7 separate regions of the Homo sapiens genome follow, and regions 2, 3, 4, 5, 6 and 7 are each linked to region 1. Evidence: promoter capture Hi-C in 16 types of primary human blood cells and fetal thymus (Javierre and others, 2016). All regions are on one chromosome and are shown on one strand. The core of a region is centred on a gene start or on the middle of the fragment in contact, and the rest is flanking DNA. Distances in the headings are between cores, read along the strand shown. Region 1 holds the start of GKN2 (gastrokine 2). Region 2 has its middle 38 kb from the start of FBXO48. Region 3 has its middle 47 kb from the start of PLEK. Region 4 overlaps LOC105374789 (a long non-coding RNA gene). Region 5 overlaps PLEK (pleckstrin). Region 6 overlaps CNRIP1 (cannabinoid receptor interacting protein 1). Region 7 overlaps LOC102724389 (a long non-coding RNA gene).

Region 1 (3,713 bases), core at 685-3,184:
CTTTCAGTTAGGGAGCATTCTGGAAGCAGAAGCCTCCTTGCTAATGCTCCTGTCTCAGCAAGGCAAGGAGAGGCTGTATCATTTTCAGAATTAAGAGTGTGGACTCTGGAGTTAAATTGGGCTCAGATCCCAAACACTGCCTTTCGAAGCTGTGTGATCTCAAAGAGTTACTTAACTTCCCTGCACCTTGGTTTTCCTACCTGTAAAATGGAACAGGTTAGAAGGTAACTTCTAGAGTTGATATGAGAATCAGATGAATCAATATATCCGAAGTGTTTGGAAAGTGTTGAAACATATTGAGTGCTCTACAAACACTAGCAACAATCATTATTAGACTATAGAACCAGAACTCCTGAGGACGGGAGGGGGACATGGTAGAGGATAGCATGTGATACTTTCATTAGCCCTAATGTCTATGGGCATTGCTGGTTTGCTTTTTTGAGTCTCTGAAGCCAGATATGAGAGAAAATTTGCAGGTGCCTTAGAAAACTGTAATCCTTTCTGCAGCTACTATCTGAGAAAGATTTAATAAAGCTGCGTGTTTTACATCCACCCCCACTGAACAGCCAGGGTAGGGAGATTCCAGTGAACTAGGTAACCCTTAACTTGCCCAGATGTCTACTTTTTGAGAACCCCATTTTTGTTTAAAGCTGCTAAAGTTAGAAAGTTGTTTCAGCTATAGAACAAGGCCATTATTTATGTTATCTCTTTGTTTACTGTGGTGATTCTCAATATTTTACAATTTTGCAATTTACTGGGGTTTTTTGTTTTGTTTTGTTTTGAGATGGAATCTTGCTCTATCACCCAGGCTGGAGTGCAGTGGCATGATCTTGGCTCACTGCAACCTCTGCCTCCCGGGTTCAAGCAATTCTCCTGCCTCAGCCTCCTGAGTAGCTGGGACTACAGGCGAGCACCATCACGCCTGGCTAATTTTTTTGTACTTTTAGTAGAGACGGGGTTTCACCATAGTAGAGACGGGGTTTCACCATGTTGTCCAGGCTGGTCTCAAACTTCTGACCTCAGGTGATCTGCCCGCCTTGGCCTCCCAAATTGCCGGGGTTACAGGCATGAGCCACTGCGCCCAGCCGCAGTTTATTGTTTTTGTTGTTGTTGTTGTTTGTTTTGTTTTTAAATTTCCCTTCCTGAGTTCATGATTATACCCTGACACTAACTAGCCATTTCTAATTGTCATGTTAAAAAAATTACACAAATTAAACTTTATTCTCTTTCTCTCTCTTTTTTTTTTTTTTCAATCTAAGAATTTCTTAATACTCTGCAAGATAACTAGAGGTCTCTAACTTACAGTTTTGTGCAGTTTTGGGCGAAGCTTAATGTAAAAATTTGGTTAAACTTGGTAATTGGGGAGAATGCTTTCTGAGTCTTGTTCCTCATTAATTTCTGGAAATTGACACCAAATCTAAAGGGAAGAACGAAGAAAGTCCTAGGCTGTTTGTTCTCCAAGCAGGCCTCCCCAGCCACTGTCTTGGCACCCCGTCTCATATCCGTTCCCTCTGTGGAAGAATTCAGCCAGCAGAACAGTGGTGAAAAGACATTGAGTTGGGGCCCAACTCAGGCCTTAAGGAAGCACTCTTCCTTTAGGAGGAGATGTTAGAAGTTTGTCCTTGTAGAGCTATAAAATGTATGCATAGAACAAGCATCATGCAATATTTTTAAAGGGTGGAAATTAAAATGTCAAGTGCAGCATAGTACAAATAGCAGGGAATATTTACAGAGTGACCAAGTGGTGAATTTTCATTACTGACTAATGAACTTCATTGATATCAGGTATGTGGTTGGATCTCAATTCTGATAAAGGAGTTTGCTAGGGTGTGTCAGAGATATAGACATGGTCTTTTCCAAAGTGATCATTTGAAAAAGAGATATCCACATCTTCAAGCCCATATAAAGGATAGAAGCTGCACAGGGCAGCTTTACTTACTCCAGCACCTTCCTCTCCCAGGCAAAATGAAAATACTTGTGAGTATTTGTTTCTGCTTCTTGATACTCTTGTGGTGACTGCTTGCAGACAATGCTCATATCTAATATGCCATGGATTTTGGGAGTCTTAGACAGATACTGTGCATGCTTCTAAGCTTCTGTGATTGAATTAATGACATCTTTGGCAGAAATAGTGTTGAATAAGTCTGACTTTTTTTGTCCTTTTCCTGTTTTGAGATGTTTACTTAAAAGAAAATTCAAAAATACAAAGAAATCTCTAGATAATTTTGATTTGGAGGATGTTTAATAATAATCCTTTATTATGAGCTTCATAGGGAATTTGGGCTATTTAAAACAACTACATTTGCTATCTAAGAGAGAAGCTGTAGTTTAAAAATAATATCAGTAATAGTAATAATAGTACCTCTCATTTCTCAAATGCATACTAAGCCTTAGACTAAGCATATCACATGAATAATTTCATCTATTCATTGCAACAACCCTATGAGTTGAGTAGTATTCTCCCCGTTTTACAGATAAGGAGACTGAGAGGCAGAGGAATGTGATTTTCCCAAGCCCGTAAATGTGGGATTTAGAATGTAATTTATCCATCTGAATCCCCACTTGCAGGCGCAATCATGGCAAATTTAAGCAGCCAGAGTGTCTTCAATGTCCTCTCATTATGACTAAATTCTCCCTTAGGACAAAACGTTCCTTCTATGGCCACTCCACCCCTCCATCTGATCCCAGCCTCCGTAGTTCCACATTGCAGTGCCCCATGGACAGTGGGCTATGTTCTGACCTAGAATGGAATTCGCTCCCCTAGTCTCTGTCCTTTATTCTCATTCAGCTGCTAAGGGAGAAAGCAAAATGTTAAGTACCTCTTTCTAAAGTGTTAAAGACTATCAGCTTAAAGAGCTCCCTCTCTCAGGGCTGTCTTGATTTTCCAAATTGAGACCTAACCCTGAAGCACAAAAGTATTATATAACCATGGTGTATTAACCACAGTGTTGGAAGGGAGATCATTTTGGGGCAGAGGACACTCCCCAAGCTCTCTCTAATCATACCATTAAAGTGGTTTAGTCCTTCGACTACTTGTTCAAACCACTATTTTAGACTCATTAACTAGAATATACGGGAGTATCATATGTTGCTGGAGCTGGTCTGTGGTAAGAGAAGATGTATCCCTATGGAAGGCTGAATATCAGCACACAGGTCTTTGTTAGATGCTCTACTCCCAGTCCCCAGAAGAGAAATATTAAGGGTGGGATGGAAAGGGAAGTAGGAAAGTCCCACTGACAGTTCTTAAAAATATCCCCCTTCCCCAAGACTCCTTTCATCAGCAGTTTTCAAATGACAGTGCAGTCAACTATGTACTGATGTAGTTTTCAGCGATAGTACAGTTCACTGATGTTCAGAAGAGAGGGTACAAAACCTGGGTTAGCATGTTGGAACAGACTCTTACAGAACTACAGCAAAATATCAGAACTGCTTCAATGTCAGCTCACGACCTGTGGGCCCAGCACTTGTGTGATAGTATCACTAAGGCATAGGAGAATATGGGGGTTTTACTTGATGTCAGCCTCAAAAGTTAATTGTGCTCCCAAGCATTCTATTTTCATAGTTTCCCTTAGGAACCTGTCAGGTCTTTATCACCCATGATTCATTTTAAATCTGTATTACCCTCTCAGTCTTAAGGGATTAAAGTTTTTTAAAATTAATTAATTAATTAATTATTTTTTTAGAGGACACAATTTGACCACTGTTATCCAAAG
Region 2 (3,542 bases), core at 8-2,507, 520 kb after region 1:
TGATTAGAACATTCTCTCTAATAATAATGATAGTCACATGAATGTCTGTAAATGTATAGGCAACAGGATAGTATCAATAAGTTGAATATGCCTTTAACAAGCTGAATGTACCTTATTCTTTAGCCTTCTTGAAAATAAAAGCCTAACCTAGTCATCTACCTGCATGGGGAGAATAGGGTGGAATTAGAAGTGCAGATAGGTTGTAATTAGAGGCTTTTAGTGGCTGACAATCACTGAGCATCTGTTGAAAGATAAGTGAATAGTAAAATTAGAAAATTACAGCCTCCATCAAGGAATGCAGCCCTCCCAACATCTCGAGACCCATTTCAGACTTATAACCTCCAGAGCTGTGAGATAATAAATTTGTGTTGTTTTAAGCTTCTAAATTTGTGGTTACTTGTTACAACAATAGGAAACTCATACAATAATTTTTATAGAAAGAATATACAATTAAATGCAAAAAGTACACTCATCTTAAGTGTACAGCTTGAAGAGTTGTCTTCCACATATTAATTGAGTGTAGCTAATTCATAGACCAAGTCATAGCACATCCCAGCAGCAGCCTATGATTCCCTCCTGCAACTGCCCAATTTGTACACTGCACCCCTAAAAGGAAAGAAAAATTCATACATTCAAAATACTTCTCACACCAAATGTGTGGAGTTTACCTCACATTAAGCAATTCTCCAACTCTCCAGATACCAAGTGGGTGTACTACAATTTACTCATGACACTAACTACCCAGAGTTAGTGCAGACCCCATAGGTTGAGGACTCAGCCTCGCAAGGCTGAAACCAAATTTAGACACCAGTCAGTAGTCCCAAACTGTGACCTGTCCATCTGGCTAACTAGCTATCCATTGGGGGTTGCCATGACCTTCTCTTTAGGTTTGATAATTTGCTAGAATGGCTCACAGGACTCAAGAAAGTGCTTTACTTACAATTAGCAGTTTATTTTAAAGGATACCACTTAAGATCAGCCAGATGAAGAGATACACAGGACAAAGTATGAGGGTGGAGCTGAGAGGTTCCGTCCTGCTCCACATGCTGCACCCTCCCAGCAGGTCTGTGTTTCCACCAACCTGAAGTCCTCCAAGTCCTGTCAGTTAGGGGGTTTATGGAGTTTCTATTCGGTAGGCATGATTGACTAATTAGTGGTCCCCAACCTTTTTGGCACCAGGGACCAGTTTCATGGAAGACAATTTTTCCACAGATGGGGGGTGTGGTTTCAGGACGATTCAAGCACATTACATTTATCATTCAATTCTCATAAGGATGACGCAACCTAGATCCCTTGCATACTCGGTTCACAATAGGATTCACACTCCTACGAGAATCTAATGCTGCTGCTGATCTGACAGGAGGCGGAGCTCAGGCGGGAATCCTTGCTCACCCACTGCTCGCCTCCTGCTTTGCAGTCCAGTTCCTAACAGGCCATAGACTGGTACTGGTCCACAGCCTGGGGGTTGGGGAACCCTGGACTAAATCATGGGCCATTGGTGACTGAGCTCAATCTCCAGCCCTTCTCCCCTCTCCAGAGGTTGGGGGAGGGAGGGAGTGCTGAAAGTTCCAACCCTGTAATCAACCATGTGATTCCTCTGATAACCACCAGCCTCCAAGAGTCACTTCATGAAAACAAACTCACATATGATGAAATAATATACAATAATTAATATAGATAACAAAAGACATTCCTCTTGCCTTTATCATCCAGGATTTTACAAGTGTTTAGGAGCTATGTGCCAGGAAATGGGGATGAAGACCTAATATATGTTTCTTATATTCTTAATGTATCACAATACCACAGCCTCCAAAAGTAATCTCTATTCTGACTTTTATAAATGTTGATTAATATTGCCTGAATTTAAACTTCACATAATTAAAATCATATAATTAATTCCTGCAAGATAGTGATTTAAAATAAGTCAGAAGTACTTTTTATTCCTGGCAATCTTTCTTACTCCCTTAGCCCCTTCAGAGAATAGTGAAGAACTCAGCTGCAAAAAAATTGATGTCAACTTTAGAGATAATAGTTATGAAAGCCAATGTTTTTCTTATCAAGTGCCAGGTTTTATTGCGAGAAGAAAGGAATTTTGAGTTTAGTTGAGCCAGAGCTAGAGGAGTATACCAAGCTTGTCTGACCCATGGCCTGTGGGCTGTATATGACCCAGGATTGCTTTGAATGTGACCCAACACAAATTCATAAGCTTTCTTAGAACACTGAGAGTTTTTTGTGATTTTTTTTTAGCTCATCAGCTATTGTTAGTGTTCTTGTATTTTATGTGTGGTCCAGGACAATTCTTGATCTTCCATTATGGCCCAGGGAAGCCAAAAGATTGGATATCCCTGGAATTTAGCATAGAATTCGTTTTAAAAGTTAACTAGACTTCCTGTCTCTGAACTTACAGTTTTTTCCTTAAAGGCCCCTGAACAACTGCACAGGCCATTCATCACTGTGTATGAGTCCATACACATATTATCACCAGGTGTCCCACTCAAATTCTGTCTGTAGGAAAGACTGCCCTTTGCTTTCAAGGCCAACCCTGGTGTCAGATTTGCATTGCAGTCCGAAGGATTTTCCTGCCCAAATTCTGCTTCCTTCCTTTTTTATCTCTCATGGGATTACTCCTTCCCCTTCTCATCAAACCTCCTCCACTTACTTCTGTCTCAGCTGCTTTCCAGAGAAACCAGCTGACCACTTCATACCTTTGGAGGAGTGATGTTTAGAAGAACGGAAGAAGAGCTATGTGCAAGTGCAGGGTGAGGCTGTATGCAGAGAATTACAGTAACTGCTTTATGTCATCGGGTAGGTGATGAGAACTAATACAAGAGGAAGAATTTAGAATGAGAACAGATAAAATAATATAAGTTCTCTCCTCTACTCTCGAGAATTTGGGGGAAAATTGGTGAGGTCATCAGCTTTCCCACAGAAAGTTGTACAAGACTGGAGTTACTTTATTTGGATGCCAAAGCAAAGGGCAACCCAGAAGGCTGGAGAATTCCTGGTACCGTGCATGCTAAATGCAGCAATAGGTTAGAATGATACTCCTGGGAAGAGTATGAGTAGGAAGGACAGAAAACAGCACTGATTAAAAGTGCAAACTCTGGGTTTGAATCCCATCTCTGCTATCCTACCTAGTTGTGTCACCCTGGCCAATTTACTTCACCTTTTTGAGCCTCAGTGTCATCATCTGTAAAATGGTGATAACAAAAGGAACTATCTCAAAGGGATAGGGTGAGGGTGAAATAAAACAATTCTTGAAAAGTACTTAACCGAGTTCCTGACCTAGACTACATATTCTGTAAACGGTTGTTTTCTTATTAAATTCTAGGAAACATCTGCCAGGGAAGGCAGATGATATTAAAGAAACAAGACCAGACCAGGGAATGTTATTATTCTCTCACACATAGATATAGTATTGCTATTGTTCAAGCAGAGCCTGTAGTTACAAGAACTTTCAAAAAGGACTTAGTTACTAAATGCATTAGAAATAATGTACAATTTCTACCCTACAGGTGCCACGTGACCTATTAAACATTTTA
Region 3 (3,688 bases), core at 31-2,530, 540 kb after region 1:
CCACAGCCGGCTAATTTTTTGTATTTTTTTTATTTGGGTTTCACCATGTTGCCCAGACTGGTCTCAAACTCCTGAGCTCAGGCGATCTGCCCACCTAGGCCTCCCAAAATGCTGGGATTACAGGTGCGAGCCACCATGCCAGGCCTGATTTTCTATCCAGGCCACTAAAACTTTCTCCATAGCAGCAATAAGGCTGCTTCACTTTCTTACCATTAATGTGCTCACTAAAGTTACACTTTTAATTTCCTCCAGATACTTCTCCTCTGAATTCACAACTTGGCTAACTGTCTGGCACACAAGTCCTAGCTTTCAGCCTGTCTCAGCTGTCAGCACGCCTTCCTCACTAAGAGTAATCATCTCTAGCTTTTGACTTTAAGTGACAGATGTGCGACTCTTCCTTTCACTTGAACACTTAGAGGCCATTGTAGAGTTATTAATTGGCCTAATTTCAATATTGTTGTGTTTCAGAGAATAGTGAGGCCTAAGGAAAGGGAGAGAGATGGGGAAACAGCCAATCAGTGGAGCAGTCAACAGATATTTACTAAGTTTGTGGACTTAGATGGGCATGGTTCATAGTGTCCCAAAACAATAACAATAGTAACCTCAAAGATTACTGATCACAGATCACCATAACAGATATAATAAGCATGAAAAAGTTTGAAATATTGCAGGAATTACCAAAATGTGCCACAGAGACACAAAGTGAGTGCATGCTGTTGGAAAAATGGTGCTGATAGACTTACTCCATGCAGGGTCGCCAGAAACCTATAATTTGTAAAAAAAAAAAAAAAAAAAAAAAAACAAACAAAAAAACAAAAAACAAACAAACAAAAAAGCAATATCTGAGGAGCACAATAAAGCAACATGCAGTAAAACAAGGTATTCCTGTATAAGGAGCCTCCTCATGATAACAGTAATTACTTCATTCCATCAGCTATTGATAATGTACCCACTATGCACAAGCACCATGTTAAGCATCAGAAAGGATTGAAAAAATTATGAAGCACGAATACTTTTCTGACCCCAAAAAACACCAACCCTAAAACATCCAACACGATATGTGACTATTTGTAAATGCCTGGTGCAAATAGATGGTAGAGATATTCTGTGGCAGACGGTCTATCATGGAAGTGGGGAAAAGTACAATGAATAACAGGGAGGGCTAAGCCTTCAAGAAAAAAGAAGAATAAGAGAAACAGAGAGCTGGAGCAGAGAATGTTCTAGGCCATGGGGTTATATAGGCAAGTCAAGGTTGCAAAAGCTGACAATCCTCCAAGGACCAACAAGAGGCCAGTATGTCTGTAGTGAAGGAGAGCAGAGGGGAAATCCTTCTGGAAAGGGAAGTCAGGGCCAGTTTGTGAAGGCCCTTAAATGCTAGGCTATTGCATCAGTGTCTGAACTGTAAGCAGTGGAGAGTCAAGCAATTTATCGGTAGTTTTTAACTTTAATTTTGGTAGAAATTACCGATCATTTTTTTAAAAAGCAGCAGTGCAAGTATATAGACCCTACCGCATGCTTAGGAAATCAGAATTCCTAAAGTTGGGCCTCAGGCATAAGTTCCATGAAAAAAATTCCACAGGCAATTCTGACATAGACCAAAAGTTGAAAGCCACTACTACAGAGTGTAGATTGCCATGAGTACCTTCTACAGCAGAGGGGTCAGAGGAAAGGAAACTAGAACTTGTGGAGTGCCACCCATTTCAGGTGACTTACAGGTATTATTTCATTTAGTCCTAACAACAAGCCTATGAGAAGAATACTATTTTCGTTTTAGAGACAAAGAAACTGATACTCAAGATATGTCACAAATGCAGTAAAACCAGGAATTCAAACTGAGGCTCCAGGCTCCAAGACCACTGCCTTTCCCACTCTACCACTTGACCTCCCATTAACAGCCTTGTGCATTTTCCCCTTGAAACTTACTGCAGCTCAAATTAAATAGCAAATGTGGTGTTAGAAAAACTCTCCTCCCATCCTCTTTTTTCTCCCTCAGTGACAGCTAAATTTTACCTTCCCTTTACCCTGAAACTGAGCCAAAACCACTGAGGGCTATAATTTCACACTAGGTTTATTTTTTTAAAGAAGCTAAATTAACTTCCTCATAACTTTCTTTCTCTTTCTTCTACGCTTTCCTCTATGACATCTCCCAATACACCTTGCAGTTCTGAAATTCCTTATTTAAAGCAGAACCCAAAATGGAATCCAAAATATTAAGTAATTACTTTAGTGATTTTCTTTTTACCCTAAGGCTGATGAGGATTGTCTATATCAGGTTTCACACAACATCCAAAAGAAATGATGATGACCCTCTGTTTAGCTTGCTACAAACAAACACGAAGAGACTAGGGTTTTCTTTGTCTGTTTGTTTTTTAGAGATGAGGTCTCACCATGTTCCACAGGCTGGAGTGCAGTAACTATTCATAGGCATGATGATTGCATACTACAGCCTTGAACTTCTGGTCTCAAGGGATCCTCCTATCTCAGTCTCTCAAGTAGCTGACAAGCATATACCACCTTGCCTGGCTCACTGTTGCTATTTTAACCCAAGGAAGTTCCTCATTCTGCTTTTGGAAACCGTTCTCTACGGGTAGAATTTTAGCCACTGTATGTGTGTATATTTCTGTGTGTATCTACAAGAGAAGCTTAATATCTCTCCTTAAATCAGTAATATATTTTCTTTTTTTTATTATTATACTTTAAGTTCTGGGATACATGTGCAGAACGTGCAGGTTTGTTACATAGGTATACAAGTGATACAAGTGCCACGGTGGTTTGCTGCACCCATCAGCCCGTCAACTACATTAGGTATTTCTCCTAATGCTGTCCCTCCCCTAGCCCCCAACCCCCCAACAGGCTCTGGTGTGTGATGTTCCCCTCCCTGTGTCCATGTGTTCTCATTGTTCAACTCCCACTTATGAGTGAGAACATGTGGTGTTTGGTTTTCTCTTTCTGTGTTTGCTGAGAATGATGGTTTCCAGCTTCATCCATGTCCCTGCAAAGGACATGAACTCATCCTTTTTTAAAGGTTGCATAGTATTCCATGATGCATATGTGCCACATTTTCTTTATCCAGTCTATCATTGATGGGGATTTGGGTTGGTTCCAAGTCTTTGCTATTGTGAATAGTGCTGCAATAAACATACATTAGCATGTGTCTTTATAGTAGAATTATTTATAATCCTTTGAGTATATGCACAGTAATAAGATTGCTGGGTCAAATGGTATTTCTAGTTCTAGATCCTTGAGGAATTGCCACACTGTCTTCCACAATGGTTGAACTAATTTATACTCCCACCAACAGTGTAAAAGCATTCCTATTTCTCCACATCCTCTCCAGCATCTGCTGTTTCCTGACTTTTTAATGATTGCCACTCTAACTGGTGTGAGATGGTATCTCATTGTGGTTTTGATTTGTGTTTCTCTAATGACCAGTGATAATGAGCTTTTTTTCATATGTTTGTTGGCCACGTAAATGTCTTCTTTTGAGAAGTGTCTTTTCATATCTTTCACCCACTTTCGATAAAGTTGTTGGGTTTTTTCTTCCAAATTTAAGTGCTTTGTAGATTCTGGATATTAGCCCTTTGTCAGATTGATAGATTGCAAAAATTTTCTCCCATTCTGTAGGTTTCCTGTTCACTCTGTTGATAGTTTCTTTTGCTGTGTAGAAGTTCTTTAGTTTAACTAGATC
Region 4 (3,547 bases), core at 744-3,243, 840 kb after region 1:
CAATGTTTTATTCCATAGAACGTTTATATTTTTCATTAGATAGGTCTTCTCTTAAAAGGGGCTGAGGGGTTATTTTGGAAAACTCTTCAGACTGAAGTAAGGATTGCTTCAAGTATGGGAAGATTTGTGGATTCTGAAAAGCCATTTGGTTTTCTGTATGTACTGGATGTGCGTATGTGTGTGTGTGTGTATTTGTGTAGACTAATTTCCCTAGATGATCTGAGCCAAAAATGAAAATTTAAAGTTTGTTCTACTAGTCCTGTGAACTGAGGTCACCAATTGGGAAAGAAAGGATGAGGAGTCAATGTACAAGCCCACCTACCTGGTTGCACTGACCCATGCAGAAAGAACAGCCACTGTGGTAGTGAGCAAGGGCTCTGCGGTGACAGTCTACAGCACATGATGGGGACCACAGCAAGTACTCAATGGGACTGGTGTATTGTTTATATGATTGAAAGGGGTGCTGTGTTATTTAGAAATAGTATTTACCTGCATGTAGCAAAGACCTGGAAAATAATGGGTTAATTCTCCCATATAATGAAAGTCAAGCTGTAGGTAGTCTAAAGTTGCATAGTGTCTCTCCATGATTCAGGCTCCATTCTTTTTTCTCCACTACCCCTATCCTCAAGATGATTTCATGGTTCATGATGACTGCAAGGACCTTGCCATCAAACCACTGAGAAGGTTTGAAGAAGGAATAAAGATAGAAGGGTGGAAAGTGGCACATCTTCCAGTAAGTGGCACTGCAGCACACCCCACACGACACTTTCATTCATAGTTCAGCGGACAGAAGTTAGTCATGTGACTACACTTAGCTCAGAGTGAGACTGTGAAATGTTGCCTTTGGCTAGGCATACCACCGCTCTGAAATAAAATAGGGATTCTTTCAGTATAGAATTTGGGAAAATTAATATTAAGTTGGCATTAGTAGTCTCTGTCACAAACACATTACATTAGCATGGCTTTTGGTGGAGACAAATTGGCAACATCCATCAAAATGTTAAATATTCATACCCCTTGAACCAATAAGTATAAATTTACTCAGAAATATGTGCACATATACAAGTATATATATGCTTATTATAGCACAGCAGTATTAATAATATCAAAATATTGGAAGCAACCTAAAGGTCTATCAATGGTAAAATTGTTTAATAAATTGTGGTATGTACCACAGAATACTATTCGGCTATGAAGGAAGAATGAGGTGACTATAAGTACTGAAAGGCAAAATGACATATTATTAATTAAAAAAGCAAGTTGCAGAGTAATAGTGTATTTCCCTTAGTAGAATTGTATTATACACATCCCTGGGGATGGGTCCGAATCTTTGCAGGCAGAGGAATGAACTCGTGTAATTTGAAAGAGGTCCCAGAAACTCTAAAAGAAAATAATAGTAATGAGTGCAAACCGAATCCCCAGTACAAATACATGAGTGAATTGTTACCACATAGAAAGTGGTAACAATATTATTTTCAGAAGAGCTCTGCTTGTACCAAGCTTGCATCAAAGTATTGGATGGGTCAATCTGACATAAAGCCTTCGTAGCACATCTAATGGTGAAACTGGCATGGGAAGGGCGTCAGTGCCGCTTCTGGGTGAATGGTGAACAGGACTCTGAAGTAATATTCCACTACAATGGCAATATAATCAGATTATAACTTTTTTTAAATACGTTGAGCTCTTACAAGAAACAAAGGGAACTTTCCAATGTCAACAAAACAAAATAAAACAACATGCAAACATGCATAGTAAGCTAAAGCTAGCATTGAGTGGTAAGCAAACTGCAAAACTTGGAGGAGAAATGCCAGTGTCAGTCACAAATGAGGGATTGAAAGCTAAGCTCTGAGGCTGCTGCCAGGCCCTGTGTCCTAATTAAGGAGGCTAAAGCTGTCCCTTGTTGTTAGCATACGTAATTCCAGAAATATATAAATTCAAATCCCTTTTGAGGAAGGTGTCATTAATTCAGGATTTCAGGATTCCTATAGACTATGTGAAACCAAATGGATAATTATGATGAAAAAATCCCCAAATATACAAAGAAACAAAAGACATAATGATGATATGAGTTAGGACTAAGTTTAGCCTCACACAGCAGAACAAACAAATAATGGTGGCTTAGACACACACAGTTTTATTTGTTTTCATCTAAAAGACGTCATGAGATAGGTGTCCAGGACAGATTCATCAGAAATTCATCAGGGACCTGTTTCTTTACAGTTTATGAATCATCTCAGATCTACGTTATGCTCCTTGTTCTTGTGACCCAAGATGGCAGCTAGAGCTCCAGATGCTCACATTCCAGGCCAATTGTGGAAGGAAAGGGATGAAGGGCAGGCCTATTTAAAAAAAAACAAAACCAAAACATTCTGAAGTTTGCACACAGTACTGCCACTTAAAATTTATTGTCAAAAATTTAACCACAATGATCACATCTTGATGTGAACAAAAACTAGGGAGTTTTAACTGGCCAACAATAAGCTTGACTAAAAATTAGTATTTTCCTTACTAGCAAGGGAGTTGGGGAATGGATGCTTGTTGTCAACTGAGTCTCTGACACAGTAAGTGTGTAATGAGCTAGAAAATGGCACCCCTGAATATCTCAGTCCTAAGCCCTGGATCCGTGTGTTATGAGAAAAATTTGAGACTGTAACATCCCCTATCCCTCCCAAGTTGGGAAGGTGCCGAAAGACCAAAGAATGATTTAGGGAAGTTGTGTTTGGCAAGTAGATGAGTTTATTGAGACATACAGGGCAGGGCACTCCTGAGTGGCAGCAGCACAGCTCAAGAGATCTGTGCCACCTCCCTTCTCTAAGCTGCTGTTAAGCTAATTTTCGGGCTCTTTGCCTACTGTGTTTGTGTGATGGTACTGTTTTCTTTGGTAGGTTCTCACATACTCCCTGGGATGTTTAGGCTCTCAGGGACACCTGCTCCTCAGCTGGGTACCATGGCCGTGACTTACTATCTGGCCTTCAGGGTTCAGGCAGCGGGCATATACTTTTAAGTAACCTGGTAGGGCAGCCTGTCACACTGCACTGTTAGTTAGTATCACCTTACATGGCAAAAAGGACTTTGCAGGTGTGATTAAGTTAAGGATCTTGAATGAAGAGATTATTCTGTATTATCCAAATGGGTCCTAGATGTAATCACAAGTGTTCTTATAAGAGGGAGGCAGAGGAAAGTGTGACTACAGAAGTAGAGGATGTTGGCTAAGCAGGGTGGCTCATGCATGTAGTCCCAGCACTTTGGGAGGCTGAGGTGGGAGGATCGCATGAGCTCAGGAGTTCAAGACCAGCCTAGGCAACATAGCAAGACCTCATCTCATTTTACAAAAATAAATAAATAAATAAATAAATAAATAAATAAATAAATAAAGTAGAAGATGCAACAGGTTGGAGTATGGAATGATGCAAGGAAGGGGTCATTGGCCATGGAATGATGGAAGCCCCTAGAAGCTAGAAAAGGCAAGGGAACATCATTCCTACAGCCTCCAGAAGAATCAGCCTTGACTTTAGCTTAGCGCTTTTGGACTTCTGACCCCAAACTG
Region 5 (4,099 bases), core at 305-2,804, 560 kb after region 1:
ACATACTCAGGTGTTGATGAATAAGACCAGTCTGGCTAGAATGTAGGGTTCATGAAGAGTAGCAGAGGCAAGGTGGGAAAAGTGGACAGAGATTTAGTGGAAATAAAAGGCAGGGTTTGTTGTTGATGGCTTTTGAGTAGGAAGTGAAAGAATTACAATTACATTTTAAGAAGATTAATATGGTGACAAAGTGCAGGATGGACCAGCTGGCTAGATTAAAGGAAAGCCCAGGAAAAGATGGTAAGTAAAAAAGAATTCATTAGGGAAGGATCACAATAATCCAGGCATAAAATCATTAGGAACTAAACCTTAGGTAGCTGCAGTAGGAATGGAAATGCCTGTTGCTGTAACAGACATGATGAAGGAAGAAGAAGAGGCGGAAGAGGAGGAGGAGGAGAAAGAAGAAGAAGAAGAAGGAGGAGGAGGAGAAAAGGGGGAGGAAGGTAGGAGGAAGGAAAGAGGAAGGAAGAAAGAAAGAAGAAGAAGAAAGAAGGTGACGACTTGGCCTTTCCCAACAGAATTAAACACTGACATTGTCTAGACTGAGTTTTAAGGGCAGGATTTGTGTCTTGCTTATCTTTGTTTCCCAGGGCCACAGTGCCTGGCATATAGCAGCTGCTTCATATCTGTTTGTACTTGCTGTGAGTTACCAAGTTATTTCCATTAGTGTGTAGCAGATTTTAAACTGTCATGGTAAACCTGACTCTATGATTTCCCACAGGAAATTCAAATGACTTAACTCCAGAAGCCAAAAATAGTATTATATTAAAAGATACGGAGTTTCTATCTTGCCAATACAAGAAATATTATTTGTAATTTCTAAAGCACCACATATTGGCAAGCATGTATACAAATTTTCCAACATTTTTCATTTTACTTGTGCTGAAAGCAATAAAACATGTGTGGTCTTAGCAAACAGTGCCTCCTTCATAAATCCAGAGGTGCTTCAAGGAAGCTTTCAGAAATGGGCCTAAGTTTTTTGGCAAAACATTTGGTGAAGGAACTCACTTCCAAAGAACTTTCTACTTCCTGAAGGATGGAGCTGGAACCCCTGCAGAGTCATATGCAAGGACAGAAAATATTCCTACCTGCTATATCATGTCCAAAATGGCTTTTGCAAAGCATAGACTTCCAAAAGTATACATTGCTGCTCTTTGCCTTAACTAATGTTGCCCTTCAGAATAACGACACTAAAGTTGCCACCCCATACCATTTCCTCTTCACTGACAGACACACATGTCATGCTGTATTATGCAATTGCTGGACAATCACCAACTTATTATGAGCCAATGGAAGAGGAAGGTAACAGGAGGATGTGAAATCAGCCAACCACCATATTCCCTTTAAGCCCTCACTGACATCACAATGTGACGTGTTGAAGAGTTGGAAGTTAGCAGGTACATTTCTGGTCATCTTTCACTTAATGAGCATTTTCTAAGGAGTATTAAGAAATGCATGTATGCCTCAGGTTTCCAAGAATTGTTACTGAACTGTCAAAGCCATCTACTTATATTTGACTTAATTAGCTCCCCAAGTGTTCATTGCCTATGATAAATCAAGAAGGATGCTGAACTCTGCAGCAGATACAAGAGAAGCATATATAACACATTGTTCCTCTCCCTCAAGGAATCTAAATGTGGTTGAGAATTAAACAAGCAGATGCTTTATTCATTGTCATAACAGAAACAATTATGTAAAAAGGGATTATACTGAATATAATCTAAGATCATTCATCCTCAAACTTGCTGCCAAGTAGGATTATTTATCCTGGGATGAGAAAATAATGGGGCAGGGATAATGGCCTCCAGTTAGCCACAGCTACTTCCCATCTGTGAGGCTTCCCATTATAACAAGCCTTCTATGAAGTTAATCCTGGCTAACTCCCAGCAGTAAACACAAGGGAGGCTTACTTTTGGAATTTTAAGAAAAAGTTTTTAAAATTCTGAAAATCCCTTGGGTGATTTTGATGTAAACTATGGTTACTAACCACTGAGCTAAGAGATTAGAAACATTAAGGGGAAGTGTCAATTCAAATCGAAGAGGTTTTTGCTCCCCAACCTCTGAAAAAAAATTCAGAGGAAAGAATATTGTAAAAGAACAAAATTCCTGAATGCACGTAGATTTCTGTTTTCTTCACATAAAAAGGAAGCTTCTAAGAAAGACTATTTAACTTGTATACTGATAATAGAATAAATTAGCTTTTAAGAAAAAGGCTGGCTCAGTGGTTCTCAGCTTTGGCTGCACATCAGAATCACTTGGGAGCTGTAAAAATCCAGAGGCTCTGATTAAATTGGCCTGGCATGCAGTTTTAACAGTTCCCTGGGAGATCCAAATGTGCACCAACCGAGCTAGCTAAGGCTAAATTGTACCTATCAAAGGCCAGACAAAGGAAGGCAAAGGAAAACACATAAGTTCAATCCTTGTCCCTATTGTCTTCAAAATACATCCAGACACTCATTACCCACACACAATTTTTGACCATCCCAGGTCTCCTACTGGGCTGCTTCACTGAGACGTGGCTCCAGTCCAGTCCCAACTTTATCTACTGTTAGCCTTCATCCTTGGCTTTCCAAGAGCCCCATTCTAGATTAGGGTTTGCCCAATCAACTAATTCAAGAAATAACTGATAACAATATAGAATTATGGAAGAAATCAACAAAATAAAGAAATTTCCTCCCAAGTTACTCTTCTTGTCTTAACAGCCACATTCCAGCACCTGCAATCAAAGAGCCAGGAACATAGGAATATTTGGCAAAACCAACGAGAAAGCAGCAGCGGGCAAACTGTCCGTAGGCAACTGCCCGAGCCTTCCCGGCATAAGGCTGGCTCTGCCCCATGCCTTTCTTTTAATCTAGCCAGCTGGTCACCCTGTCATAAAAAAATACTATAATAGTCCATGAATTCTTTATAAATTCTTGCCATATATTTCTTAGGACACTGTTCTCTTAAAACCTGATATGAAGGTAATTTTTCCATTCGAATGTCCCACTTCCCCCTGTGAAACTCAAAATCCATACCTATACCTCCTTTCAGCTATCCCAGCCCAGAGTCCCTCTTTATAAATGTAAATATGGGCTCTTCTCTGGTTCTTCCCTCCTTGCCCATTCCATTAATCACTAAGATGGACATTCAGGGTCCTAACATGAAATAAATCAGATCCCCCAGTCCCGTGGAGCCTATAGACAGTACATGGAAATCTCCTGATGGCAACAGATTCTCTCCATTATATACTGAGCAGCACTTTTAAGGCAGCTCACAGTGCAGCCAGGAAGGCAAGACCTTGGTCCTGCAAAGCAGCCTTGGCCTCTAAGATGCCTTGTGCAAGTATCAACTAGCTTCCCCCTGAATATTCTCATGTCTTCCTGCGACTTCCTCCACCAGGTACTGGTCCTGGCTTCCTCAGTCATCTTGGCCCCTGTCCATCTCTTACCTCTTGGCATCATATGCCTTGGCACCTGGTAACCGACTAGAGCTCCTCAGCACTCTCCAGCCCTTGCCTCCAAGACTGATGGTGGCCTGTACCTGTGGACACCTGGACATCCCCCCAGGACTCTGTCCATGCCCTCAATCTGCATTTGACTTTTGCCTGCTGTTCCTGTGAACTGGCCTCTGCATGCCCAGGTTTTGGTCTTGTCATGCCCTAAGCACAGACTGGAATGACTCTTCTTTGCTCTCAGTGGTGTACTCTGTTCCTCTTCTGGGTGTAGCCTGTTCCTGTTTTCCTGGTTGCTTTGAAGGGAGGAGGGACAGGTAAAATGGAAGTACTTTTACCATGAGACAGCTTTGTCTTTTGGATGGCATCTCTTAGACAATTTATCTCCTCCGGCCATATTTTTCTTGAAACACCTTTTTTTTTCCTATGATATTGATAAAAGAGGCATTTTCCTACTTTTAGGGACATCTTCTGCCCTGTCAAACTCAATCTTCCTGATCTAAAGCCACTTTGATATCTAAAGAGCTACTCATCTATCTTTCACTTTGTGGGTTTCATTTTCTGCTTGACTATTAACCAAACAAACCAAAAGTCACTGGGTAACTTAGAAACAAAAAGGACCTTGTAAAGGGAAAAGGCTAGATGGGAGCAGTTGTGGCCACTCAC
Region 6 (3,954 bases), core at 475-2,974, 640 kb after region 1:
GTACAATTGTCTAATGTTTTCTTGATTTCTAGAAGAAATGTGCACGTTAAGGCATTTTATAAGACTGCCTCACTGACCTCCAGAAAAGCTAGGCAATTTACACGCCTATCATCTGTATTTAAGTATCCATTTCTCTCTGCACTAGGTATAGTTTGTCATGTTTACATATTTTTAATCTGACTGAAATACTTCAATTTTTACTTACTGTTAATTTGAAATCCTGACATATTCATTTACTATTTGTATTTGCTTCATGGATTATATGTTCATAGTTTTCACCCATTTTTCTGCTTAAGTGTATCTTATTGATTTTTTGAAAAATCTTTATAAATTTAAAATCGTCATTTTTATCACATCTTGAGTGTTCATTTAATATTTTAATTTTTATTTTGTTTACAATATAAAATATAAATTTTGTAGTCAAACATGTTAGCCTTTTCCTTTATTATTTTGCAGTTAAGATCCAGCTTAGAAAGTCTTCCTTGACTCCCAGATTAATTAATTATATATAGACATATACACAGTGGCATTTGTGTATTTTCATCTGAACTCTTATGGTCTCATTTGTTAAATTTTAGATGAATTACAGATTTAGATATTATTTCAGTTCTTACTTTTATATTGGAAAGTATTTGCCCACAGTGTCCTAATACAATTATTTAAATAATCTATGCTTCTCCAAAGGTCAGTTTCATAGAAATTTCTTATATTGCAAAAATTTTATCTCCTCCTATACTCCCTAATCTATTCCATTGATCTATCTATTGTTACACCAATACTGCATTGTTTTAGATACACTGTTTTTATAATATGTATTCATATACTTTGTAACTGACCACCTTACTGAACTTGCTTACTAAAATTTTTCAGCAAATCATCTTGGGTTTTTCATATAGATGGTCAGAATCTGAATATAACTGTCTTTTTTTTTCCTGGTCATATTGCATTGTCTAATGTTTCTAGAATAATGTTGACTGCTGCTAGCAGTCAACTACAGCTAGTAGCAGTAGTTGGAGATAATTTATCTTATTTGATATATTTGATGAATTACATAAAGTAATACACTTCCAAATACTAAACCTTATTTTTTACAATAAGCCCTACTTAAACATGTATTATTAATATATTGCTAAATTCTATATGCTCTTTTATTTAGAATTTTTAGATTTTTAAAATTTGCTTGCTTTATCAGCAAATATTTGAGGATTTCCTGTATATCAGGGACTCAGGGGGAAGAGTGGTGAACAAAATAGATAACCCGGGTTTCATAGAATTTCTGATCTTGAGGGTGGAAACATACTTTATACATGATTATCAATGATAAGGTAAATAATTGCTAATATGAAAAGTATAGCAAAAAAGTAGTGCTGTTAGAGTATATACCAAGGGTCTTATCCTAGTCCAAGATTTGCGGGATGGTTTTCTTGAGGAAAAAATGAAGGATGAATAAGAGTTGAGGAAAGAAAGAGCATTTGAGGAAAGAGTAGTTGTAAAAGTCAAGAGCTGGAGACAGCGTATGTATTCTAATGGATGAGAAGCCCAACATGGTGGGCATAGAGTGAGGCAAAGACAGTATAAGATAAAGCCAGAGAGGTAAGTAGGGGTTGGATGATATAGAACCTTTTTGCCACTGGATTTATCCTAATGACTATAGGAAATCATTGAAGTTTTTGAAATCAGCTTTGAGATATGATTAACATAAAATGCACCAACTTTACAGTTACATAGGTTTTGACAAGTAGATGCTACTATATAATCACCACCCCAATAAAGATAACAGAACACTTCTATTACCCTGAAAATTATTTGCAGTTAATTCCTCCCAACCTAACCTATCCTGAGCTTGCCATCTCAATATGTTAGTTTTAACTATGTAAGAATTTCATGTAAATGGAACAGTGCTGTTTGACTTCTTTCACTTAGTATAATGTTGAGATTCACCTATGTTGCACATATCAGTAGTTGGTTCATTTTATTTCTGGGTAGCATATTATGTTGTGTGGATATACCATAATTTCTCCCTTTACCAATAAATGGACATCTGGGTTGTTTTCAGCTTTTGCTATTATGAATAAAGCTGCTGTGAACATTTGAGTATAAGTCTCAGTGTGAACATATTTTCATTTCTCTTGAGTAAATACCTAAGAGGACAATTGCTAAATCACATGGTAAGTATGTGTTTATCTGTGTAAGAAATATCCACACTGTTGTACCATTTTGTATATCCACCAGCAGTGTATGAGAATTCTAGTTGCTTTACATACTCAATGTATGTCTTTTTAATTTGGAAATTCCAAAGACATAGAAGACCCAAAACAATCTTGTTTGATCTATATTGTAGTCCTTAAAACAGGTAGCATAAATCTTCTAGCTTTGTTTATTCTAAGTTCTTTTGCTTAATCTAGGTCCTTTGTGTTTTATATAGATTTTAGAATGAGCTTGTCAATTCCTCCAAAAATTGGGATATAGAGTTTCCATTAAACCTATAGGTCAACTTAAAGATATTTGACATCTTAATATAGAGTTTTCTATACCATGAACATGAAATATCTCTTAGGTCATCTTTAATTTTCTCCACAATATATTACAGTATTTCCTCTACAGACTTTATACATATTTTGTTAAATTTATTATTTCATATTTTTGAATAATGTAAATGGAATCTTTGCTGGTATATGGAAATAAAATCGATTTTTTTTGTATATTGATATTGAATCCTGAGACTTAGCTAATCTCACTAATCCTAATAGCTGTTTTTGGAGGATCCCTAGGATTTTCTAAATATGCTATCATGTCATCTGTAAATAGTTTCTCTTTTCTTTCCAATCTGTATTCATTTTATTTATGGCCTAATTGCAATGGCTAGGACCTTCGCAGTATGCTGCTAAATAGAAATGGTGAGAGTGGACATTCTTGTCCCTCAGTCTGAGAGAGAAAGCATTCTGTTTTTCAATACAAAGTATAGTAGCTGTAAGGTTCTTTATTGTAAATCTTTTTATCAGGTTAAAGGAGTTCTCTTCTATTCCTGGTTTACTGAATGTTTTTTTAATCATGAACGTATTATAACATGTTTTCAAATAGTTTTTCTGTATCTTTTGAAATGATCATAAGGTGTTTTATTCTGTTTATGGTAGATTACCTTGCTTTTTCAAAGTTAAAATAACCTTGAATTCCCAGGTTAAATACCACTGGTCATGGTTTATTCTCGGTATGTAAAACTGGATTTGATTCATTAATATTTTGTTAAGGATTTTTGACATCTATGTTCCGGGGGGGATATTTGTCTATGGTTTGCTTTTCTTATAATGCCTTTGTCTAGTTTTGGGTATCAGAGTAATGCTGGCTACATAAAATGATTCGGAAAGTGTTCATTCTTCTATTTTCTGGAAGAGTTTATATAGAAATGATATTTTTCTTAATGTCAGAATTCACCAATGAAGGCATAGATTATACTTTATTTGAAGATTTTTTATTACAAATTCAATTTCGTTAATAGATATCGGGCTATTCAGGTTTTATTTCCTGAGTTTTTGTAATTTATCTTAGAAGTCATTTATTTCAATTAAATTTTCAACTTTATTCCCATAAAGTTGTTTATAATCTCCGCCATTCTTCAGTGTCTTAGGATCTCTAATAATGTCTACTCTTTTACTCTTTGATCCTTTTCTTTTTTTTTTTTTTTTTTTTTTTCCCCGGAGATGGAGTCTCACTCTGTCTCTCAGGCTGGAGTGCAGTGGTGCAATCTCGGTTTACTGAAACTTCTGCCTCCCAGATTCAGGCAATTCTCCTGCCTCGGCCTCCCAAGTAGCTGGGATTACAGGTGCGCACCACCATACCCAGCTAATTTTTTGTATTTTTAGTAGAGATGGGCTTTTGCCATGTTGGCCAGGCTGGTCTCGAACTCCTGGCCTCACAAGATCCGCCCACCTTGTCCTCTCAAAGGGCTCAGATTAC
Region 7 (3,881 bases), core at 1,035-3,534, 610 kb after region 1:
CAGTGTGCATATTCTATGTGGCCAATAAAGAGTAGATATGTATGCTTTGAAATGTAATCAAATTATTATTCAATAAATAGTGGTGTTGTAACAGATAATCAAATGGGAAAAAAGGTAAATTTATATCAAAATAATTCCAGATAGATAAAAAATGTAAACATTAAAAATGATACCAGGAAAGTTCTATCCAAAAACCATGGGATAAAATTATTTTTATAATTTCATAATGGAGATGCCATGAGAGATTAATAAACCAAGTTACATAAAAGTAAAAAAAGTACGTATGAGAAAAAATCACAAGCAAAATAAAAAGACAAATGTCAAATTGGAAAAAAGTTATTACAGATCATGGACAAAAGGTTAATTTCTCTAATGTACTAGGAATTCATACAGAGAAATATGATAAAGACAACAGAAAATGAATAAAGGACATGAAATGGCAGTTTACAAGAAAGAGAGTTCAAATGATTCTTAAGCTTGTGAAAAATGTGTGATGCAATTTATAATAAAAGGAATGCACAACGGAATGATGAGATGCTATTCTTCACATATCAAATGGTTCAAATGCAAAACTTAGATTGTACCTTGTGTTGATGAAGGTAGGGGAGAGTAGTCACATTGCTGGTAGAAATGCAAAATGGAGCAACTCTGCAACAGGAAATTTGGCAATATTTACCAAATTATAAAAGCACATATACTTTGACTCAGCAAATCTGCTTTTGAACAATTGTCTTAGGGATGTACTTAGCTGTGTGCAAATGATAAATACACAAGGACTCCCCTCACTAAGGTATAAAGCAGCACCTTCCATCATCCTCTATCTCTTTCTATTTTATTGACCATATGATAATATTTATCATTACTGTCTTGATGATATACCTGGGTTTGTGTGTATCCCCATCAAAAGTATGCCAGTGACTAAAGGGGTAAACCGCAGGCCTGCTTGGAGAGATGACCCCGGGATTGCCTTCTGAAAGCACAATTCCCTTGCATAAATGTCAAATATTACATACCATGAGTTGGTTATCTGTCTTGTTTACTGGAAGAGCAGCAAAGTGGCACTTAAATCTTGGCTCTATGTAACTGAAATCATATCAAAAGGCAAGTGGAGTATTAGGGAAGTACATTTTCTGTTTCAAAATAAGTTACACATACCTTGACCTGGTTCATGGTAACTGCATTCCCAGAAAGTAGTTTTGGGACTACTGATGCAATCAAAGACGTTTGCATGCTGTTTCCCATCTACAGAGTAAACTTAGTGTTAGACTCAATCCCATTGTGTCTTACTGGTTGAATGCCCAGTATGATACCTGGAATTACTGCTGGTGATGGACAATACATCATTAGGTAGGCTGCAACCCCAGCATCTAGAACAGGACCTGGCACATATGAGGAACTCTCTAAATAATCTTTAAACGAAGAATGAATGAATGAATGAATACATTGTTATGTGAAAAAAGGCAAGGTCCTTGCCTCTGCCCTCCCTTCCTCACTGATATTCCGCCCTGCAAATCCTAGCCAGGACCCCCCTAACCCTGATTGCTTCTTCCTTAATTTGGTGAGTCGGCCAGGCTCTGTTTCAGTTCTCCTTCCTGCCCGGTGGCCCTGAGTTGGCTCCTGACAGTGAGCTGCAACCATCACAGGGCTCACCTTATTGGTTTCCCTCCTCCCAGGTTTCACAGTCCTATGTTGCCTGTTGTCCACTGTCTGAAAACACTTGTTATATATACTTTTTCAATTTTCTAGTTGTTTGTTACAGGAGGGAAGTTCTTGCAGCCTTTAAACCTTCACTAGAAGAAGCGCAAGAAAATAATTTTTTTCTTTAAAACTCCTCCAAGAGTGATAAAGACCATCTCCAAGGTCAATTTAAATAGTACTGTGGTCGTGTTAAAAACATACACGCACACACACACACACACACAAACCCAACTCTCATCTTTTAGAGGTTCTATTGAAATATTTATGAACTAAGGAATAACAATTTTTGAGATTTGCTCAAAAATATAGGCAAGAGTGAAATTGCATGGGAATGTGCGTTGGTCATGAATTGGTAATTCTTATAGTTGGGTGATGAGTTCAGTCTACTTTTTCATGTTTGCAATTTTCCATAATAAAAAGTTTTCTTAAATCAATTTATAGGAATCTCTATGTTTATTGCCCACTAAGTGACTTCTACTGTGTCTACTTGGTAAGAATGAATGATCTGAGAGCAGGTGTTTGATACTAGAAAGGGGCGGAACATGAGGGCACGCGGTGTAAAAAAAGAAACTGAAGGGAGGGAAACTGAAAAGCTAATGGTAATCTTTAACTGCTATAATTTATCAGTCAGTTGACTATGCCCCAGATAAACCCAGAGATCCAGAATCCAGCAGCATGCCAAGCTGACAATAGGTTCTCCACTACTACCGTGTAGCTGAGAGGTGGCAGAAAATCTACCCAACACCGTGTTGTTACTGCCACCCTGGCTGCCTGGTCCTTATTTTTAGAGAGTGAGATTTTTACAAATTGCAAAAGCCAATCTGTCCTGTCACAGACTCCTAAAATGAACCTGGATCGCCATGGTAACAGCAGAGGCAGGCAGGCAGTAGGGGAGGAACACATAGTTTGTCACGGCTACAAAAAAGCAGGCAAAAAGCAAGTCAGATTCATCCCTTAGGATTCACTCCAGAATGCTCTTCGGTAAATGCCCTTGAGAATGCAAATTCTGTCTCTTCTCAACCCCCATGTCCTCCTCTATAGAGCCATATTTATAGAGCACCTAATCTGTGCATCCCAGGAAGGTAACATCTCCATTTTGCAGAAGGGTAAATTGAGACATAAAGAGGCTAAGAACCTCTGTAAAGTCTAATAAATGTCAAAGCTGGGATTGAAACCCAGGTCCATCTAGTACCAAGGCTCATGTTCTCTCATCTCTGATTCTGTAGTAGTTAGCATTTGCAAGTGCTCATTCAGAAATTATTCATGGAAATTCTTATGTCACCACTAATAAAATAAGCATAATGCACAGTATAATAAAGGCAAAGGTAAACATAAAAAATAGAGTGTAACCATTTAGAGGTCCAGAGTGTTTTAAGAACTCATATTTAATTCTCTCTCAAATTTCCACCAAATAAGAACTTAATATTAGAATATAGTTATAGGGAAGATCTCTTTTCACTATGGGAACATGAGAAGAGACATATAAACAGGGGATGGGCCCAAAAAACAATATTCTAGGACATTAGTCTATCTGTCAATCTAGACATCATAAGGATAAATAAAAATCATACTGTTCAGCTCAAGTTTTCTCACATAACTCCTCAAATAAGCAGTACAATGTCAGTCACATTTTTTTTTCCGTGCCTGTAATAAATCCTTTAATTTAAAATGTTTGGATGTGGTAGAGAAATGCATATTTATCATCTCATACTGGTTTCTAAGGAAGGTGTTTTTGTTTGTTGTTATTATTTGAGGATTTTGTTTGCTTAGGCATTTTTTGTTTTGTTGAACATAAAATTGTTATCTTCAGTATAGTTGCCTTGAGTATCAGAGAAACAAAACATGTCTTTTTTTCCTTACCAGTCAACACAGTACACAGTATACTTCACCTCTGGTTGCCAAAATGTAGGGGGACGGGGGGTGGGGGGTTGTCCCCATGCACCAATCAACCCTTCAGCAGACACCAACTAGTGTCCTATAATTTAATTCAATTCTGACACTATCTACCTGGAGTAGAGTCGGATCCCACAAATTAAGGGCTCATTCCCACAAGACTGCACCCCACCTCAAGTGCCAATCACAAGTCTAGTTACCCACAATTTCTGCCCAATTTGGCTACAAATTCGGGACTCCAAGTTGCACCCCCTCCTCAGGCTCAATTAATTTTCTAGGATGGCTCACAG

What was found. The method cuts DNA at HindIII sites, captures the fragments that hold promoters and counts their contacts. A CHiCAGO score of 5 or more calls a contact.
Region 2: a fragment that was not itself captured here is called in contact with the fragment with the promoter of GKN2 in region 1 in 5 of 17 cell types (activated CD4 T cells, naive CD4 T cells, non-activated CD4 T cells and 2 more); the score reaches 13.7 in activated CD4 T cells.
Region 3: a contact is called between a fragment that was not itself captured here and the fragment with the promoter of GKN2 in region 1, in 4 of 17 cell types (activated CD4 T cells, non-activated CD4 T cells, total CD4 T cells and 1 more). The highest score is 7.7, in activated CD4 T cells.
Region 4: a fragment that was not itself captured here is called in contact with the fragment with the promoter of GKN2 in region 1 in 3 of 17 cell types (activated CD4 T cells, total CD4 T cells and total B cells); the score reaches 6.3 in activated CD4 T cells.
Region 5: a contact is called between a fragment that was not itself captured here and the fragment with the promoter of GKN2 in region 1, in 4 of 17 cell types (activated CD4 T cells, naive CD4 T cells, total CD4 T cells and 1 more). The highest score is 6.4, in activated CD4 T cells.
Region 6: a fragment that was not itself captured here is called in contact with the fragment with the promoter of GKN2 in region 1 in 1 of 17 cell types (activated CD4 T cells); the score reaches 5.4 in activated CD4 T cells.
Region 7: a fragment that was not itself captured here is called in contact with the fragment with the promoter of GKN2 in region 1 in 3 of 17 cell types (activated CD4 T cells, naive CD4 T cells and total CD8 T cells); the score reaches 6.6 in activated CD4 T cells.

What each region holds. Positions count from the first base shown.
Region 1 is chr2:68,951,114-68,954,826 of GRCh38, reverse strand. GKN2 (gastrokine 2) reads left to right here and starts at 1,934. Exons shown (of 6, transcript NM_182536.3): 1 at 1,934-1,977. The coding sequence starts at 1,966. The HindIII fragment of the contact is 766 bases long and covers 1,330-2,095 here.
Region 2 is chr2:68,427,509-68,431,050 of GRCh38, reverse strand. No RefSeq gene overlaps it. Among named protein-coding and RNA genes, the nearest start is that of FBXO48, 38 kb to the left of the region's middle. The HindIII fragment of the contact is 1,753 bases long and covers 381-2,133 here.
Region 3 is chr2:68,410,327-68,414,014 of GRCh38, reverse strand. No RefSeq gene overlaps it. Among named protein-coding and RNA genes, the nearest start is that of PLEK, 47 kb to the right of the region's middle. The HindIII fragment of the contact is 2,729 bases long and covers 1-2,644 here.
Region 4 is chr2:68,107,513-68,111,059 of GRCh38, reverse strand. LOC105374789 (a long non-coding RNA gene) reads left to right here. Exons shown (of 3, transcript XR_940223.3): 1 at 1-733. Among named protein-coding and RNA genes, the nearest start is that of C1D, 46 kb to the right of the region's middle. The HindIII fragment of the contact is 981 bases long and covers 1,503-2,483 here.
Region 5 is chr2:68,388,492-68,392,590 of GRCh38, reverse strand. The region is part of intron 6 of PLEK (pleckstrin); the gene reads right to left. Among named protein-coding and RNA genes, the nearest start is that of PLEK, 25 kb to the right of the region's middle. RefSeq lists an enhancer at 3,396-3,445. The HindIII fragment of the contact is 1,194 bases long and covers 958-2,151 here.
Region 6 is chr2:68,311,516-68,315,469 of GRCh38, reverse strand. The region is part of intron 2 of CNRIP1 (cannabinoid receptor interacting protein 1); the gene reads left to right. Among named protein-coding and RNA genes, the nearest start is that of CNRIP1, 6.5 kb to the left of the region's middle. The HindIII fragment of the contact is 5,380 bases long and covers 1-3,954 here.
Region 7 is chr2:68,339,491-68,343,371 of GRCh38, reverse strand. LOC102724389 (a long non-coding RNA gene) reads right to left here. Exons shown (of 4, transcript XR_940224.4): 2 at 1,014-1,083; 3 at 585-648. Among named protein-coding and RNA genes, the nearest start is that of CNRIP1, 21 kb to the right of the region's middle. The HindIII fragment of the contact is 3,612 bases long and covers 479-3,881 here.